Regions from separate parts of the Homo sapiens genome. Here all the other regions are linked to region 3. Evidence: promoter capture Hi-C in 16 types of primary human blood cells and fetal thymus (Javierre and others, 2016). All regions are on one chromosome and are shown on one strand. The core of a region is centred on a gene start or on the middle of the fragment in contact, and the rest is flanking DNA. Distances in the headings are between cores, read along the strand shown.

Region 1 (2,901 bases), core at 69-2,568, 220 kb before region 3:
AAAGAGAAGATAGCCATCAAAGAGAACCACAAACCAACACCACAGATCGTGCAAAGAGAAGATAACCATCAAAGAGAGTACACATCGACGCGGCGCCCAGTCCAGAAAGATAGAGCGCTGCAGCACCATTCAGCCACAGGCAGCATTTTTCAAAGCATCTTGGAGCAAAATGAACCTCTGGTGAAATCAAAAGATGCTCAGTGTTTAAATATTATATTTTGGGCCAGTGCAAAACCAAATATTCGGTTGGTACAAAAGTAACCGAGGTTCTTGCCACTGAAAGTAATACTAAAAGTCGTAATGAAGGCCTTAAAGCAAACATGAGACATCACAGTTCAAGTCTGAATGGGCTAACAAGATAGGGTAACATGATGGGGGAATTCAGACTGAACTGCTCAGAATATGCTCTTTGAACCACTCAGAGGAAGACCTGATGCTGAAATCAGAAGTCATTACCTGGAAGTTTGTTATAAAAACGTAATAGGGGAAGCTTGATTTCATTATTATTACCCAAGATGAATTCAGTCCTTCTCAGTAAATCTTTACTATCCTAGAATAAAATCCAGCCTTGTTACTATGGCCTACAAGGCTGTTAATAACATTTTACTTCCATTTCCCTTCCCAACTTTATCTCCTATCACATCCCTAAAGTCACTCCATCCCAGCCCATTATTTTCTGCTATTCTCTGAACATGCCAGGCTTATTTTATTATTTATTTATTTATTTATTTATTTATTTATTTATTTATTTATTTTTTGAGATAGAGTTTCGCTCTTGTTGCCCAGGCTGGAGTGCAATGGCATAATCTCCGCTCGCCGCAACCTCCGCCTCCTGGGTTCAAGCGATTCTCCTGCCTCAGCCTCCCAAGTAGCTGGGATTACAGGCATGTGCCATCACACTCAGCTAACTTTGTATTTTTAGTAAAGATGGGGTTTCTTCATGTTGGTCAGGCTGGTCTTGAACTCCTGACCTCAGGTGATCTGCCTGCCTCGGCCTCCCAAAGTGTTGGGATTACAGGCGTGAGCCACTGCGCCTGGCCCCCAAGGCTTATTTATACTTTCAATCAGGCTGTTAATAACATTTTACTTCTATTTCTATGTTTACTTCTATTTCTACTTCTATTAACAGTTTATTGTTCCTTCTACTTCCTTTTAGTTATGAGTAATTTTCTGTGTTAACTTGACTAGGTTAAGGGATGACCAGATAGCTGCTAAAACATTATTTCTGCCAGGTGCAGTGGCTCATGCCTGTAATCCCAGCACTTTGGGAGGCTGAGGCAGGAGGATTGCTTGAGCACAGGAGTTTGAGACCAGCCTGGGCCACATGGCAAGACCCTACCTCTACTCAAAGTTTAAAAATTAGCCAGACATAATGGTGAGTGTCTGTGGTCCCAGCTGCTCAGGAGACTGAGGCAGGATTTGCTTGAGTTTGGGAGTTTGAGGCTGCAGTGAGCCATGTTCAGGCCACTGCAGAGAGTGAGACAAGTGAATGAGACCTTCTCTCAAAAAACAAAAAAAACCCAAAACATCATTTGTGGGTGTGTCTGTGAGGGTGTTTCTGGAAGGGATTCACATTTGAATCAGTAGACCGCGTAAAGAAGACCCACCCACAAAGGTGAGGGCAGGCAGGCAGGCATCATCAAACCCGTTGAAGGCCTGGATACAACAAAACGGTAGGGGAAGGGCTGCTTCTCTCTCCTTGAGCTGGGACGTCCATCTTCTCCTGCCCTTGGATGTGGAAGCTCCTGGCTCTCAGGCCTTTGGACTTTGAAACTCTCTGTCCTCTGGGGCCTTAGGACTTGGCCTGAATTAGACCATCGGCTTTCCTGGTTCTCTAGCTTGCAGATGGCAGATTGTGGAACTTCTCTCCCTCCATAATCACATGAGTCAATACCAATAATAAATTTCCTGTTATCAGTACCTCTATGTATCCCACTGGTTTTGTTTCTCTGAAGAACCTTGACTAATACACCTCCTGGGCATTCTCTAACTCCACACTGTGCTTTATTTTTCTTCAAAGACTCATAACTCTTCTTTATTGTTGGACTACATCAGAATGTAAATTGCACAAGGGCAAGGACTTTCTCTTGTCCGTTATTATAGCCCCAGCACCTAGAACAGGACCTGGTACCTAATAGGAGCTCAATTAAGCTTGTTTCTCTGGCACTCCCAGAAATTTTATAAACTAAAACCCTGTGACAAATCTCTTTCTCTCTGAACTAGCTAGAGTGAATTCTGTTGTTGAATCCTGACCAATTCAGGACATGGTAAAAGAAGTGGATGTGGGAAACAATCCAAGGCTGTGAGAATCTAGGATTGGATATCTGATGTAATGAGGACGGAAGGGCAGCATCTAATTACCATTAATGGCTGGGATGCTGGCAGATGGCCACTCAGTAATGAAACAGGTACTTATTTATTTATTTATTTATTTATTTATTTTTTTGAGACAGAGTCTCGCTCTGTCACTCAGGCTGGAGTGCAATGGCATGATCTTGGCTCACTGCAACCTCTGCATTCTGGGTTCAAGCAATTCTCCTGCCTTAGCCTCCTGAGTAGGTGGGACTACAGGTGCCTGCCACCACACCTGGCTAATTTTTTGTATTTTAGTAGAAACGGGATTTCACCCTGTTGCCCAGAGTGGTCTTGAACTCCTGACCTCAAGCAATCTGCCTGCCTCGGCCTCCCAGAGTGCTGGGATTACAGGTAGGAGCCACTGTTCTTGGCCTGAAAAGGGAATTTAAATAATCACCTGAGGCCATCTGGAATAAAATGCCTATTCAAGGCAAGGCTTTGGTGAACTAAGTGTGATAGAACAATATGGGGAACATAAGTAGTAACAGACATGTGAGGTGGTCTGGTTGCTTCTAACTTCACTGGAGAAATTAAAGAAAAAAAAGC
Region 2 (2,700 bases), core at 83-2,582, 220 kb after region 3:
GTACATGTGCAGGTTTGTCATATAGGTAAACTCATTTCACGGGGTTTATTGTACGGATTATTTCATCACCCAGGTACTAAGCCTAATACCCAACAGTTACTTTTTCTGCTCCTCTCCCTCCTTCCATCCTCCCCACTCAAGTAAGCCCCAGTGTCTGTTGTTCCTTTCTTTGGGTCCACGAGTTCTCACCATTTGGCTCCCACTTATAAGTGAGAACATGCAGTATTTGGTTTTCTGTTACTGTGTTAGTTTGCTAAGGATAATGGCCTCCAGCGCCATCCATGTATTTCTATGATTTTGACCTTTACCCATTTCTCTCTGTTTCCACTGCTGCCTCCTTAGTCCAAGTTACTAATATTTCTTGTCTGCATGATTGCAATAGCTTCCTGACTGGCTTCCCTGCCTTCACACTTGCTACCCCCAGCTTCAATCCATTTTTCACACAGCTGTCTGAGTGACATTGCAAAACAATAATCAATGCCTCTCCCCTGCTTAAAACTCTTCAAAGTTTTTCTTTGGACTGAAGTCCAAACTCCATAGTTTGGCCTTCAAGGCCTGCATAATCTAGCATTGCATATATCTGCAATTTCATCTCATACTACCCCTTCCTCATTCACTACTCTCTAGGTCTCTTTGCAGTTCCTCAAAGCTCTTTCATGCCTCAGGACCCTTGCACTGGCTGTTTACTCTGCCTGGAATGCTCTTTCTCTGGCCCATGGGTGCTCAATAATGTTAATGGAATAAATGAGTATAGATTGTTTCTCTTATTTGAATACTATAAATAACTAATGAGAAAAATAATGTGTCATTAACGTTTTAGCCATTTGTATTTATAACATTTAAATTATATGGTCTTAATATGATAGACCTATGGAATTTCTGAAGCATGTTTATGTGTTTACATGGATGGAGTAGGGAGGATAAGAGAGTGGGAGGAATGTATTCAGCATGTGATAACCATGAATCATGCATCCTGTGAGATAGATGGTGATATCCCTATTTTTCAGAACTCAGGTGGTTTGGGAAATTAGGTCGCTGGCTAAGGGTGAATAGGTAGAAAGAAGTGGGTAGAATTTACACGTGGTTTGACCCCAGTACCCATGTGCATTCCCCAGATCCTGGTGCCTTTGAGCAGACACAGCAGAGAGAGAAGTTTGAAGGTAGAAAAGAGGAAAGACAGCTGGAAATACTGGTTTTTTTGTTCATCTGGGCAGTATCACAGGTGGCTGTGAATCAGAGACACCGGATATCTTAGTTATATCCAATTCTGCCTTATTTGTCAAACATGGCCCAAATGAACTGAATTAGACCCCAACTTCAAAACCCAGTATCCATACACAAAGAAAAGGTGGTGAGTACAGTTAGGTGTGGCAATTAATGAGCCACCATCTGCTGAAACATCACACTTTAAGTGGGACTTAACATGGTTATGGGTTTCTTTGAACTTTTTTTTTTTTTCCTTTCCCACCATATGTGCTTAAAGGCTCCAAAAAGGAAACAGCTTAATCCAGGAATGTGAAAAAGAATGGTGACATTCTGCGGTGTGTCAGTGAAATGAGAAACTTATCAGGCACTGTCTATTTTGGGGGTTTTGTGGTATTTTATGGTTCCAGGCTTCTAGTCAGTGACAAAATGGCACTGCCAAGATGACTTACCACATGCGTGGGGTATAGCAGAGCACTATGGTAGGTGCTGCTTCTAAAATTTACTTTTGGCTTTGCCCTGGACTGAGTTGACACACATACAGAAAATACTCCTTTTCCTCCAAGGCCTAACTGAGACAGCATCTTGGCTTACCCATATTCTTCCCAATGGAGAAAGGAATCTCTCTGTAGTAGGTTTTCCTGTTGCATTGTTTTGTACCTTGGTGACAGTACTAGTTTCAGGCAGTTCTTCTTTGTGGCTTCATGCATTTCTATCTTCCTTACCAACTACCTTAAAGCTCCCTCAGGGCACAGGCCGTGTTTTCTTCATCTTTACAAAATCCAGTGGGACTTTGCACAATAACTTACATTGAAGGTGCTCAATATATGCTGTTGAATTAAAATAAAATTGTTTTAGGAGAAAAAGTTAGAGTGATGACTTTAACATAAGATACTTCAAAAATGTGCAAAATGCACGTTTTGTATATATTGTATATATTTGTAGGTTAACAATATAATTGACTGTATGCTTATATTGAATGCTGAAAAAAATCTGATACTACCAAGAGGAAACTTTCACACTCTTTATGAAACCTAGTGTGTAGTTTTGGTTAAAATTCATAGTTTAAACTGCAGAATCTAAACGTTTGAAATGAGGAAAGATGTTGCTTTTAATCTTAGCACTGGTGCAACAGGGTGAAAATCTTTTAGAATATGCATGGTTAGGATGGTTAGCTTAGCACAGGTATGTCAACAAAGCATTACCATAGCTCTGTGTTTGAGATCTCTCTCTCTCTCACTCTGTGTGTGTGTGTGTGTGTCCATGGACCTTTTTTCTTAGGAAATATTTATTTAAAGAATTTCCTGACTATAGAGAGAAATATGATGAATGTCATAGATATTATGGTAAGTGCGTTTGGAGAAGGCAAAAGTATTTTGTTTTCTAAATATTTAAACATGACCTGCACATCAGTTGTGATGTGTAAATGCCATGGGAATACTGGGAGCAACAAAGAAGGGGTTTGGAATGCTAGAGTGGATAGTTCTCTCTAACCCA
Region 3 (2,700 bases), core at 195-2,694:
GACTAAAGCAGAACACTGGCTGCACTGTATTAAATATGTAAGTTACCACAGGCATTACACTGAAGAGTAAAAACCTGCTTAAACATGGGCAAAATAAAGTTAAGACTGAACTTTCCAATGCAAAATTAAGTTTCTTTGTGCATCCTCAGGTGTTATGTGAAACTGGAGGAGTTCAACTTCAGTTACCAGTAAGAAGATACACAACTAAATCAAGACTGCTGCCACATTTGGCAACAACCTCCTCTCTTCTTGGCAGTAACTGTGAGGCCAAGAGTTGAGTTGGCCAGGGAAGAGTGATTTATCTTCCCACATTTAGAAGTGGTCCCTCTACAACAGGAATGCTGTACCGCTACTGGACTTTGAATTCTAACCTTGTCAAACCAGTACCTTCCCTAAGTATTCAAGTCACTTTTTAAAAAACAAGTTTAAATGGCATCGCAGTCCAATTCGACTTAGAGAAAACAAAGTTGCTCTTTCCAAAAAAAAAAAAAAGTCATTACTCTGGAAAATTAAAAGAAACTGACAGGGGGATGAATAAGGCGCTAAAGGCTGAGAGCTGTCGATGGAAGATGGAGGTCGCTCAGCATAGTATAATAACTACCACCGAGGCCTGGTGGGCAGCAGCTCCCAACCTAGAGCGGACGACCCCAGGTTGGCGTGAAGCAGGCAGGTTTGACAACACCAGACCCCTGCTGTCCGGTTCGTCGCGCTGACCCTGCCAACGCAACAAACGCCCAGACCTTCTCTGCACTATGGATGAGCAGTGTGGCCTGCTCTCGTTCTGCCCTTCCCTGGAAATGCGCGCAAGAAGGGAGGTGGCAAAAATCATGTCCACCGGGGGGGCTCAGGTAAGGGCTGGGGAGGTCTCGGGGTTAAACATTCGGCCCTTTGTTCACCAAGGCAGCAGAGCCCTTGGCGTCCGCAGCTCCTCCTCCCCGACTGCTCCCTGGCGCCAGCGTCTCCCGAGGACAGGCGGCAAGGGCTCGGACGCCCAGGCTTGGCTGCGGGTCGGGATCCCACGGCCTCGGCGGCGCGCGGCCCCTGCCTTTACCTTGTAGACGTCGCCGTAGGTGCCGCTGCCGATGCGCTGAATCAGCTCGAAGTCCTCCTGCGGGTTCCGGCGGGACAAATCGAAGCCGGGGTTCATGGCGGGCCCCAGGTGCCCCCCGCCTCCCTCCCGGGCAGGGGAGGGGGGCCGCTCAGGGGGCCACACGGAGAGAGGGCGCCGCGGCCGGCTCCCGGCTCCCCCGGCGGTCACAATCACCCGGCTCCACGCTGCGGCCGCCGCCGCCGCCGCCGCTCCCCTCACGCCGCTGCGGACGACGACAAGCGGCCAATCGTCCCCGCCCCCCGCGGCCCGCCGCCGCGCCGAACCTGGTCACACCCACAAGGAGAGGAGAACCCTCGCAGCCCCTCGCTCGGGGTGAAACTCCAACATGGCTTCCGCTTTCGCCGCTCCTCCCCCTCCCCTTACTCCGGCTCCTCCAACCTCCTCCCCTTTTCCCGACTCCCGCCCGACTGCGCAGCCGCGATCCCGGAGGGAGCGCGCCAGGCCTGGCGCGCACCCGACCCCTTGCGCGTTCCGGCTCCGCGCGCCTGCCAGGCCGGGGCCGGCGGCGGAACAGCTTGGGACCCGAAACGCCTCGGCTTTTCTGCGGACCCGCGCCCGGCCGCTGCCGCCGGACGCTTGAAAAGGTTTGCCTGGCCCAGGGACCGGGGTTAGGACTAGCAGAAAGTGGCTTCTTTTCGTTTCTGATTCCCCTAACGACAAAGTTGGACCTTGGTCTATCTGGTCCCAGTTCCAAGCAGGTAGCATAGTGGTAATATCCAAGACAGCCAATGTCCCAGCCTTTATTATTTTAGAAGCAGCTACATGTAGGATACCATGGAGTGCTGCAGCCTTTCTGGGATTGCGGGGAGGGGTCACTAAACACACCGTGAGGAAAACCCCCAGGAAAAGTGAGCTGTGCTTGCTTGCCCCTGTCACCGACACTCGGACCCTTGGAGTTGGCCTGCCAGGGTGCAAAGGAGGGCAGGCCAGGAGGGCCGCGAGGGAGGTGTGTGCAGTGGGCAGAGCGTGAAAGCTCCGGGAGGAAAACACGCGGAACAGCTGCCCACCATCCCGCGTGGGAGGCAGGCAGAGCGCAGAACTAAAGCAGTGATTGACCTCCCTCTTCGAAGAGGGTTGGATTATCAAAGACGGGCGGGGACTGCGCAGGCTGTCAAGCAACCCTGTAAAGAAGGGGTGGAGAGTGGACTAGATCTATTACCGCACCTGAAATATAAACACGTGACGATCCGGAAGCTCTTTAGCTGTGACCTTACCTACCCAAAAACCCCACCCTGCTTAAGACCCAGATTGCGCGTCTTACATCTGAGCTATGTGGACTCCAGCTCCGATTGTTAATACTTGCCCAAGAAAGCTTGAGGGTAATGGAAGGTTATTTTTCTGTTCTCATTGAACTTCCCAATAGACATTTGCAGGAGCTTTAATCAATTAGGTGATGGCCACTTTGGCAATACCACGTTGGAGTTTTGCTTCAGAAATGCTTTCCTAATCCCCTTAGGCACCACACCTTCTAACCACTAATATTCCCTAATACCTCGTGGCTCCTGAGAAACTAGGTCTCATCAAACCTGTTAAGGATAAGTATAATAAATTAATAGTAGAGCAAACTACTTAGAGTTAACTGCTTCATA
Region 4 (2,700 bases), core at 140-2,639, 180 kb after region 3:
TAATTGATTACTTTTGTTATTGTAGGCTATTGGTAGTTAAGTTTTAGGGGAGTCAAAAGTTATATGTGGATTTTCAACTGCACAGGAGTCAGTGTCTCTAACCCTTGTGTTGTTCAAGGGTCAATGTACTTTAAGTGGGAGAGAATGAGACAAATATAGAAAGAAAGGCAGAGACAGGATGAAGCAAGATTGGTGGGGAGGAAGAGAGAGCAGGAGAATGACATTATTTGAGCCCCTGGATCCAGCTGTACCTAAACTTACATTGGAAGATTTGTGAGCCAATATATTCATTTATTTCCCCTAATGCCAGTTTGAACTGATTTTCCTTGTATTTGCAACTAAAAGAATCATAAGAGCTAGGTGTGAAATCTTGAACGACAACGTTTGCCCTCAAAATTCTGTACATTTTGCTTAATTTCCTTCTGACATATAATAATAGAAAGGAAAATTCTGAGAGCAGCCTGACTTTCCCTTCTTTATATGCAATGTACTATTCCTGTCTGGATGCTTAAAGAGTTTTTTTATACTCATATTAAATCTCTTCCAAGAATGCACTTAGCTGCAGGTATTTTACACACATACACACACACACAAAATCTGAAATATTGTAAGCTCTTTGAATCTGCATACTTGAGACATTTTTCAATTCATGATTTTTAAAACATTATGTCTTTGATTACGGTTTCCATTCCATTTGCTTTGGTTTCTTTTACCTATAATTCATAAGTTGGATCTTCATCCATTGAAGAAGGTATGAAAAATAATATTCTGATAGCTTCCAAAAGCAGTAGCTAGCCAGTAAAGGTCAACTATCCCTCTTCTGGGTTGAAACAGATCTGGCATTCTTATTCCAGGGAGCCAGATTGTTTAGAGAAATGAATGGTCTTTGTACCTTTTTTCAGATGGGCTGTCTTTCTGTTCAGGCAGAATAACACAAGGGGTTACAAACTGCACTCCTAGCACAGTTCCATTAGTATGGTGGTTTGCGAAAATGTCTGAGCTTTCAGAATGGTATGTTTTTATTTTTTCCCCCTTCATATTCATAGATGTTTTAAGAGAAATTTTAGAGGGACTGTGAAATGCTATTTAAAGTTAGAAGTCTTCTGTTGACTTAAGAGCCAGCCAGCCAAAGTATCATGTAATTTGTGTTTTCAACATTCACTTAATTAATCAACTCACAATCCAGCATTATTGAGCACCTTTTATGTGCCAGACCCTATGCTTACTAGGCTATAAAGTTGAGTAAGATGCTATTCTAATTCTTAAGGATCTAGCAATCTAGAGGGTAGACAGACGTGTGAAACATTCAATAACTTGGTGAGCTTATGATACACATAGTTCTCTGAGAGCAATTTGGGGAAGGCTTCACAGAGGAGGTGACAGACATCTGTATCACACTTTGTAGAATCAGCAGTTTACCAAATAGATGAGGAAGTGGCATTGGTGTGTTATTCTATCATTGGTCTCTGTCCTTTCAATGGGAGTGTGATTGGGCTCAGTCTGCATACTGATGATTCTTTTCAAAATTTTACCCCACTGCTTTCAAATTTCAAAGTGTTTTCTTATGACTGACAGATCCGTGTGCCATGCACAATGTATGGGATTACATGGGCAGCTTTGTCTTTCTCTTTGTTAGTTTAACTTCTCTTTCTCTCCACTTACCGGCCATAGGGATGCTGTGTTCTTACACATATTTTTTTTTTTTTTTTTTTTTGAGACGGACTCTCGCTCTGTCACCCAGGCTAGAATGCAGTGGCGTGATCTTGGCTCACTGCAACCTCTGCTTCCTGGGTTTAAGCAATTCTCTTGCCTCAGCCTTCCCAGTAGCTGGGATTACAGGCATGCGCCACCAGGCCCAGCTAATTGTTTTTTGTATTTTTAGTAGAGACGGGGTTTCACCTGCTGGCCAGGCTGGTCTCAAACTCCTGACCTCATGATCCACCCGCCTTGGCCTCCCAAAGTGCTGGGATTACAGGCGTGAGCCACCGCACCCAGCTTCTTACACATTTTAATTGTTTATCTATTGCAACATATATTTATGTTAAGTTTGAAGAGAAATAATAACTTATATAAGCAGAGAATGTGAAAGTTTAAGGATAATCTAGTCTAATCTCTTAATCTCTACTACTATTTTATAGCTGGCAAAGTCACACTGCTGAGTAGGAACTAAGCAGGAATAATGGTAATGATGATGAAGATTGAATAGTACCAGCAATTTGTAAGACTTTTTCACAAACATCATGGCATTTAATGTTCCCCCAAATCCTCGGAGCTTAATATTATTATGATGCCCTCTTTACCAGTAAGGAAATTAAAGTTTAGCAATGTTAAAGTATTTGTTTGAAGATATTATCTTAAATCTCTGGACTTTCAGTCCAGCACTTTCTCTACTACTCAATTAAACTTCACTCTTTTTTGTTTGTGCAATTGAAATGTAGTTAAAAATACTTTCCAGACTAGGATTATCTTTTAAAAAAATTTATGAGAAAATACATACATGGTATTTAGCACCAATACTTGATTTCCTATATTCCTCATAGCCTGTATCAAAAGTATATCTTCCCATAATACACTGCTTTGTGTTATTGTCTAGTTTGTGTTTACATGGTTTGTCTTGTCTGAGCAAAAACTTTTTCCCTGCTCAAAATCTAGTAAATTTTCTCTCTCACCCCTTCTTTGCAACTTCCCTTAAGTTCACCG
Region 5 (2,700 bases), core at 107-2,606, 200 kb after region 3:
TGTACATATTCAAGATGTGCAACTTGATGTTTTGATATATGCATACGTTGTGAAACGATTACCACAATGAAACTGCTAGCATGTCTATCACCTCACATAGTTGCCATTCTCTTTTTCTTTTTATTTGTGGTAAGAACACTTAAGATCTACCATTTTAGCAAATTTAAAGTGTACACTACAGTATTAAACACAGACATCATGATGTACATTAGATCCCCAGGACCCATTCATCTTACCTAACTGAAACTTTATACCCTTTGACAAACATCTCCCTATTTCCTCCTCCTTCCCTCACCCTGTGCCCTTGGCAATCACCATTTTACTCTCTGGTTCTGTGAGTTTTATTTTAGATTCCACATGCAGGTGGGCGCTTGCAGTATTTGTCTTTCTGCATCTGGCTTATTTCACTTAGCATAATGTTTCCCAGGTCCATTCATGTTGTTGCAAATTTACTTCTTTTTATGGTTGAATAATATTCCTTTATGTATGTATACACACACAATGGAATATATATATATATACGCACACACACATATATATATTTATATCACATTTTAAAAGAATTCTAACTTTAAACTCTTTCTATGAATCCTTGAATTTACAACTAGTGATAAAATCTCACACACACACACACACACACACACACACAAACATACACATGTTCTACCTTGAATTACTACCAAGTCAAACAACCACAAAGCTGGCCAATGAATAGCTAATAACTGGTTGAATGATCAGCCCATATATTCTTTGGCAAATTGGATCAAACCACAGAAAAGTAGTCTCAGATAAAGTGAACAATATAACATAATTTACTTTCTCATAGAGAGAGGCTCTATTTAATTTTCACACCCCTGTGTCTGGTGTCCTTTCATGAAATACAGTAGTCTCCTTCTCAAAACTTCCCTGCTGGTGAAAGACATGCATTTTTTTAATGCACTCTTAATTTCTGGTATATAGGAATAAACTATGCCTCTGGGAAAGAAATGCATTGCATGGATACACTTTGTGAAGGTAAACACACAGAGGCATTCTGCTTTCTGTTAATTAATGACAGTGACGACAAGTTTTTATAGGAAACCAATTTTGCTTTTGAACACCAGGGAGATCTTTGAGCATAAGAAATATTTCAATTTAGGAAAATTATAGCACAGCCAAAAGCCCAAATGTAACAGGTGAATTATAGTTGGTCTAAAAAATTAGACACATTAGGAATTGGTCCATGAATGTTCAGTAAATACAACTAGATCCCTGAAAATATTTTCTCGAAGCTAAAGACAACTCTGAAAGTTGGGATTTGTTCCAGCATTTTCCCAGGAGGTGGAATTCAGATGCATGGGCTGGGACTGTGGGAGCTGAGAGATGCTAGAGTGGTGAGCAGCCCGCTGGGCAGAACCTTGCCTGGCTGGTGAGAGATTGATGTTCCCTGGTTCCAAATGGAGACTGAGTCTGACATATTTGCAGAGTGGAAGTTTGAGCTTCTCTTGTTTTTATTCATTACAAAGTCATTTATGAATGCACACTAACTGTGACATGACCTCGCTGGTATATTTAAAGCAACCCTAGGCTGGTGGGGTCAAAAGTTTCATTGTACACACAGATGCGGCTTGTCAGCAGGAATGCAGATTTTGGCAGGGTTAGAGGCAATGGATGTGAGGGCTGAGTCACCCTGCAGAGCATGCCAGATAACCCCTCCCCAACCCACACAATGGGTTCTATTCTAGTGCCATTCCTAACTGCACGATCTATACTGTATCTGTCTTGGATTTGTGTGCGATTGTCTGCATAGAGGCATAGTTGGTGACAAAAGAATGATGAAAATCAGAACAGTTACTTAAAGTGAAAACACCAAAGTCTGGGTTCTCTGAGCTCTCTCGCAGGTGTTTACTCTTTGACTTCTAAAATCAGTTCCACAGAAATACTCAAGTGTCCACAAATACACACATACAAAGAAGTTAATTACAGCATGGTATAGAAGAATGACAAATTGGCTGGGTGCGGTGGCTCACGTCTGTAATTCCAGCACTTTGGGAGGCTGAGGCAGGTGGGTCAGTTGAGCCCAGTTTTAGACCAGCCTGGGCAACATGGCAAAACCCCATCTCCACAAAAAATACAGAAATTAGCCAGACATGGTGGTGCACACCTGTGGTTCCAGCTACTGGGGAGGCTGAGGTGGGAGGATCACCTGAGCCCAGGTGGTTGAGGCTGCAGTGAGCCATGATCAAGCCACTGCACTCCAGCCTGGGTGACAAAGTGAGACCCTGCCTCAAATAAATAAATAAATAAATAAATAAAGACAAATTGGAAACAACATAAATCGGAGGGGGTCATAAATTATGACAGGGGTCCCCAACCCCCAGGCCATGGACCAGTACTGGTCCGTGGCCTGTTAGGAACTGTCCATAGAGTAGGAAGTGACCTGCGGCAGGCCAGCATTACCGCCTGAGCTCAGATCAGCGGCAGGCATTAGATTCTCATAGGAGCGTGAACCCTATTGTGAACTGCACACGCAAGGGATCTAGGTTGCACGCTCCTTATGAGAATCTAATAATGCCTAATGATCTGTCACTGTCTCCCATCACCTCCAGATGGTACCGTCTAGTTGCAGGAAAACAAGCTCAGGACTCCCACTGATTCTACGTTATGGTGAGTATGAAATAATGATAGAAATAAAGTGCACAATAAATGTAATGTGTTTGA
Region 6 (2,824 bases), core at 256-2,755, 160 kb after region 3:
ACAGGGATAAAAAGTATTTATTTGGTACTTTCCCTAAATGAAATCTGGAGTGATAGCTCTTCTAACATTTTATTTCCTTCAATATACATTGGGCATAAATTCAGCTCTCAAAGTCTAAGGACCTTAAGGGGAAAACCACAAAGCTAGAAGCACTCTAGTGAAGGAGCACTGGGCTTGGAGTCAAGATTTTAGTCCCTATTTTGTTACTAACCAGCTATGTGATCCCGAGGAAGTCCCATAACCTCTGAGGGCCTCAGGTTTCCCCATCTTTATATCGAGTGTTGTACTATATGATCTCTGAAGGTGTTTCTCTGCTCCATCACTTTGATTCCACATGCTCGTCTGCAGAGACAGATTTACTGTGACTTTAATGAAGCTGAAGCTTCAGGGCTCTTTACTTGCTCAACTCCTTCCAAAAGCCCCGAGAGAGGCCCCATCAATGTCTTTTACATGGTCATATATTTTTGCAAAGTTTCAAAAGTAAGATATTTTTTACTGAAATTGGTTAAGACAGCTGTCTCTTTCCACTCCCTCCTCCTCATCACAAATCTTCAGGTGCAGGTAGGCCTGAAAGTGACAGCAGACATTTTTGGAATGAAGTTGGGGCTATGTCTATTTTGGAAGGCAAACTGAGTTGGGGATGTGTTGGTTTGGGGTTGGTGGGTATATATTTTGTAGTTTATAGCTACTCTGTATACAGTTACACTGTTGCTAGCCATCCTAGTATAGGTATGGCTTCCAGGAATATTTCTACTGCCCACTGTGCAGGCTTCCCCAGCACTGTGGCATGAAGGTGCAGGGTATTATGGGAGTAGGTACTTGTCCTACAATACCTGGCACTAGGAGCATGTGGGGAGTGGAAGAGAAACAAGATTTGAAATGGATAGAGCCAGAAGCAAATCTGTGGAAAATTCTTCCAATCATCAGACATTCAGTTCACAATGATGACTAAACAAAATGGAAATATTCTTCCGTAAGGAATATATGCAGTAATGCAACATACACAATTATAAACACACTCTTAATTGTTTATGGTAATTGCTCAGAATAGAATCCACCAGAATTCTTGTGTTTGTAAGGACAAAAATCTTTAATAATATGATGAACAGTCAGTCTGTGTGTGCTGTTTCAGGTTTTATGTATCTCAAAATGTCTTAGTATATTTGATGCATCTTCTCTTGACAAATTCTGGGAATTTTAGATGAAATGGCATGCAATTTTGACACAATGAAACAGAAAGTCCCGAAGAAACAAGGGTTCTAGCGACAGAACTCCTATGTTCATCAGTATGGCAGCAATAGATGTAGTATAAGGGTAATTTGATCCTACTATTATGTAGCTCAATATATTTGTATTATGTTATATTCAAATACAATATATTATATTTACAATTTTAAAATGTGTCTTTTTTCTTTTCTTTTCTTTTCTTTTTTTTTTCTTTGAGACATAGTCTCACTCTGTCACCCAGGCTGGAGTGCAGTGGTGCGATCTCGGCTTACTGTAATCTTTGCCGCCTGGGTTCAAGTGATTCTTCTGCCTCAGCCTCCTGTGTAGCTGGGATTACAGGTGCCTGCCACCATGCCTGGCTAATCTTTGTAGTTTTCACAGAGATGGGGTTTCACCATATTGGCCAGGCTGGTCTTGAACTCCTGACCTCATGATCCACCTGCCTCAGCCTCCCAAAGTGCTGGGATTATAGGCGAGAGCCACTGTGCCCGGCCTAAAATGTGTTTTACTTGTTCTTGTTTATGCCTTAATTTCAGATGAATTTTGTTTTTATTTTCAGAGTGGTTGATCATACTGTAAAACTCAAATGTGAAGGGAAGGCTGGAACCTACTGGAAACTGAAGATCTAACGAAAAGAAGGAACTTTTAGGAACTAGCAGAGACTTCAAAATGTTGAGAACTCTCTTTTTTCATAAGAGAAGATAAAAACTCTGATGGTCACACTCATAAAGACAAAAAACAAATAAAAAACAAACAAAAACTCAGAATCACAAGAGCAAAGAAAATGTAGGTAAAACAATAACAGAAGAGGTAAAGAAATTTATGTGAATTGGGACACTCTGGGGCACAGAACAGAAGAGGAGAAGAAACATGAAAGTAATGCTCTGCACAAGGATGTCTGACTGTCCTTGATTCCAAGGGCATTTAAAATTAGCCACTGGATGAGAACCATGAAATGCCATGACTCTTACAGCTCCCATGAAAGACATTGGATGGAACTTATCCTAACTGGACCAAATTCTAAAAAATTTTACATGATATTATAATGAGTTGAAAGTTGAAAAAAAAAAGCTCTTCTAGATTACCAAGAATAAAACACAAATTTCTAGCTGACTGAATTAATTCTCATCTCTCTATAGAAAGATCATAGAAATTTTTTTTATCATGCAAAGAAATAGCTAAAAATTTACAAAAATATAGACGTGCATTAGGCAGCTCATGAATAAATGCGTTTTTTCCTTTTTTCCTCCAGAATTTTGTGATGTTTATGGTACTTTTCGGCTTTTAAAATTTTGTATTTAATCAGGATTTATTACTTCATTGTAAGTAAATATTAAATTTGTACTCCATCTTTGTTTGTAATTTTGTATATTTTTCAGTAAAAAGGACTCCCCAGATTATGTAAGCTTTAGGCCCCACAAAATCTAGGCCTGTTGCTGTATCCTTTCTAGAGCAGTGTTTCTCAAACTTCAATGTGCATTTGAATCTCCTGGGGCTCCTGTTAAAATATAGCTTCTGAGATGATGCATTTCTAACAGACTCCCAGGGCTGACACTGCCCATCTGGGGACCACACTTTGAGAATCAAATATCTAGAA
Region 7 (2,700 bases), core at 8-2,507, 240 kb after region 3:
CTAGGAAACGGAAGAAGCCAGTCCCCATTTTCCGATGTCTTCTTTTACAATAAATGTAATTTCCCAGAAGGCGTCCTGCAGACTTCCCACCGGTCTCATTGGCTAGAATTATGTCACGTGACCATTCTTAAAGCAATCCCGGGCAAGTGGAATGGACCATGATTTTCTTAGACCAATCAAGCTTCAGCCCTGGGGCTGGAGAAAGGGCCCAGGCTCCCCAGGAAGCACTTGGCTGGCTGACACCTGAACAAAATCTGGCTTTGGTCAGCCACGGAAGAGGGGTTCCAGAGAGCCACACAAGATAGAGCCTGAAGCAGCAGGTGTGTTCAGGCGGCAGTCCCATCCTGCCTATGGTCATTCCATAGTAGGAGAAGACTGAGAAGAGAACTCAGATTTTCTTCCAGCTTTTCCAGATCTACCACTTTCTCCACATACTGCCCTAATAGACACATGGAAGTGCCCTGAAAGCCCTGTGCTTTTCTGTTTGAAGAGCTGTTTGAGTCTCTTTAATCTCTAGAGATTCAGAGATGGCATGGTTGGTTCTAAGGAGGCTTATTTATAATTGCACTTTTAAAATTGAAGGTAAATGTTCAAAATTGTGCATTCTAGGGAATATTAATGTACTTTAAGATCAGAAGGTGCAGTTGCTATGAATTTAATACACATTGGATTGGAGAGCTTGGTGCTTCAGTGCTTCCTATGTACAGCCTTTGTCCTCACTCTCGTCCCCATTCCCCCACCCCTGGATGTTCAGTGCCTCCCAAGAAGAGCTTCATGGAGAGCATTTTTCTGAATATCTCCCTTCACCCCCACTCCTCAAACCAGGTTCATTTATAGAATCTGTTCAAGCCAGGCTATGACTTTTTTTAACTTCTTGATTTCTTGGAGGAAAACAACAACAACATATTTCATTTCTATCCTTTGACTGGCAACTGAGTGACCATGATTACAACTTCCCAGTGCATCTATAAATATAATAACTTTGAACAAGAAAATTAGCAAATCACTCCTTGCTATTGCCAGTGTCCTGGTGTGTTGATAGTGGCGCGTGTTCAAAATTAGAAATTAAACAATTCTAATTTGAAGAAAAGCCACTTAACTCATGTCTGTATTGGGCTTTCATTATCTTTGAAATTTCTGTGAAGTATCATCTGCTTTTGAAATGACAAGCTGGAAGACCTGGGGAGGAAGCAGTTGTTCAGCAGTATATGTTTCTGTGTTTGGAGGAGTGGGATGGACCCTGGTCATCTCAGCAGGAATGTTCAAGTCAAAACCTTTCCAGCAAACCTCAGGTTTCCTGTGCTAGGCTCCTCTTGGACCTCTCGTTCGACACCGAGAGACCTATTTATTACAGCTTGATACTTCCTCAGAGCAGGAATTATGAAGCAAGAAAACAATCTGAACTGTTACAGATGGGCTGAGCTAGCAGGATTTTAGCACAGAAGCCTCAGAAGATGGTGTAAAGCCACAAGGTATGTGGGTGGGCATATATTTGGACCACCATATTGCATGCCAACTTGTAGGTTCGACAAGAAAAAAAAAAAGCAAGCAAGCAGGCAGGAGAGAAAGGAAAGGAGATAGGAAGCCCAAGAAGGAAGGCAGGAAGGAACAGATGAGCAACTATTTGGTGGATCTTCAGGGAACCATCTCCATAGATCTTGTTTCCTTAAATATCCATTAGGTACATTTAGCTTTCTAAAATACAATGTTATGTCTTTCCTTTAAGTAAAAATATCGGATAGATTCCTTAATAAGTTAAACATAGAAGAACCAAATATCCCAGCAATTCCACTAGTAGGTATATACCCCCAAAAGTTGAAAACAGATACTCAGACAAAAACACTGTACATAAATGTTCACAACAGCACTATTTGCAATAGCCAAAATATGGAAACAATCCAAATGTCCATCAACTGATGAATAGATAAGAAAATGTGGTATGTCCATACAATGGAACATTATTCAGCCATAAAAAGGAATGAAATACTGACACACGTTACAACATGGATGGACCTTAAAAACACTATGCTCGGTGAAAGAAGTCAGACACCAAAGGCCATAAGTTGTATGATTTTATTTATGAAATATACAGATTAGGCAAACCCACAGAGACAGAAAACAGGGAGGGGATAATAGGGAGTGACTGCTTAATGGGTAAGTGATTTTCTTTTAGGTTTGTGAAAATGTTCTGGAAATAGATATTGGGAGTGATTGCACAATGTACTAAATGTCACTAAATCGTACACTTTAGTTAAGATGTAAACAAAAAAACCCCAAATCTCTGATAATTTCCCACTGCCTACAGCTACAAGTCTGAATTTAGCAGGTCATAAAAAAGCTTTTACCTTGTGGCTCCAGCTGCCTTTCTGGTTATATACCCAGCTACTTCTGCATGAAATCTAGGATCAAGTCACATAAGACCATTTTCTAGTCCTTCAATACACATGCACTTTCGTATCTCTGTGTCATTGTGAATACTGCTTCCTCTGCCTGAATACCATCCTCTCTTGTCCATCTGGACAGCATCTACTTTTCCTTGAAAGCTTAGTGCTATTCTTATTTCCTCTCTAGCTTTCCTTGCCTCTGTCCTCAGCACCTCTCTCATTCCCTGCAGAATTAATTGCTGTATTAACTGGGATGCCATTGTACTTTATACATACCTTTATGATAGCACTTTCTACATTGTACTGTATGGTTTCC

Evidence for each region. Contacts are between HindIII fragments. The CHiCAGO score rates a contact against its expected background, and 5 or more counts as called.
Region 1: a fragment that was not itself captured here is called in contact with the fragment with the promoter of MAP4K3 in region 3 in 1 of 17 cell types (naive CD4 T cells); the score reaches 5.3 in naive CD4 T cells.
Region 2: a contact is called between a fragment that was not itself captured here and the fragment with the promoter of MAP4K3 in region 3, in 2 of 17 cell types (naive B cells and total B cells). The highest score is 10.5, in naive B cells.
Region 4: a contact is called between a fragment that was not itself captured here and the fragment with the promoter of MAP4K3 in region 3, in 1 of 17 cell types (total B cells). The highest score is 5.0, in total B cells.
Region 5: a contact is called between a fragment that was not itself captured here and the fragment with the promoter of MAP4K3 in region 3, in 1 of 17 cell types (naive B cells). The highest score is 5.0, in naive B cells.
Region 6: a fragment that was not itself captured here is called in contact with the fragment with the promoter of MAP4K3 in region 3 in 2 of 17 cell types (naive B cells and total B cells); the score reaches 6.5 in naive B cells.
Region 7: a contact is called between a fragment that was not itself captured here and the fragment with the promoter of MAP4K3 in region 3, in 1 of 17 cell types (naive B cells). The highest score is 5.5, in naive B cells.

Annotation. Positions count from the first base shown.
Region 1 is chr2:39,216,993-39,219,893 of GRCh38, forward strand. All of the region lies in intron 3 of CDKL4 (cyclin dependent kinase like 4), which reads right to left. Among named protein-coding and RNA genes, the nearest start is that of CDKL4, 26 kb to the right of the region's middle. RefSeq lists an enhancer at 2,762-2,901. The HindIII fragment of the contact is 1,661 bases long and covers 489-2,149 here.
Region 2 is chr2:39,659,472-39,662,171 of GRCh38, forward strand. No RefSeq gene overlaps it. Among named protein-coding and RNA genes, the nearest start is that of TMEM178A, 5.1 kb to the right of the region's middle. The HindIII fragment of the contact is 6,363 bases long and covers 1-2,700 here.
Region 3 is chr2:39,435,841-39,438,540 of GRCh38, forward strand. It overlaps MAP4K3 (mitogen-activated protein kinase kinase kinase kinase 3), which reads right to left and starts at 1,445. Exons shown (of 34, transcript NM_003618.4): 1 at 1,052-1,445. The coding sequence starts at 1,147. MAP4K3-DT (MAP4K3 divergent transcript) reads left to right here and starts at 1,576. Exons shown (of 6, transcript NR_037875.1): 1 at 1,576-1,695. RefSeq lists an enhancer at 639-718 and silencers at 1,049-1,408, 1,479-1,698. The HindIII fragment of the contact is 5,405 bases long and covers 1-2,421 here.
Region 4 is chr2:39,617,524-39,620,223 of GRCh38, forward strand. No RefSeq gene overlaps it. Among named protein-coding and RNA genes, the nearest start is that of TMEM178A, 47 kb to the right of the region's middle. The HindIII fragment of the contact is 6,580 bases long and covers 1-2,700 here.
Region 5 is chr2:39,640,884-39,643,583 of GRCh38, forward strand. No RefSeq gene overlaps it. Among named protein-coding and RNA genes, the nearest start is that of TMEM178A, 24 kb to the right of the region's middle. The HindIII fragment of the contact is 5,699 bases long and covers 1-2,700 here.
Region 6 is chr2:39,597,580-39,600,403 of GRCh38, forward strand. It overlaps MAP4K3-DT (MAP4K3 divergent transcript), which reads left to right. Exons shown (of 6, transcript NR_037875.1): 6 at 1,787-2,824. Among named protein-coding and RNA genes, the nearest start is that of TMEM178A, 67 kb to the right of the region's middle. The HindIII fragment of the contact is 2,251 bases long and covers 381-2,631 here.
Region 7 is chr2:39,676,430-39,679,129 of GRCh38, forward strand. All of the region lies in intron 1 of TMEM178A (transmembrane protein 178A), which reads left to right. Among named protein-coding and RNA genes, the nearest start is that of TMEM178A, 12 kb to the left of the region's middle. The HindIII fragment of the contact is 2,157 bases long and covers 180-2,336 here.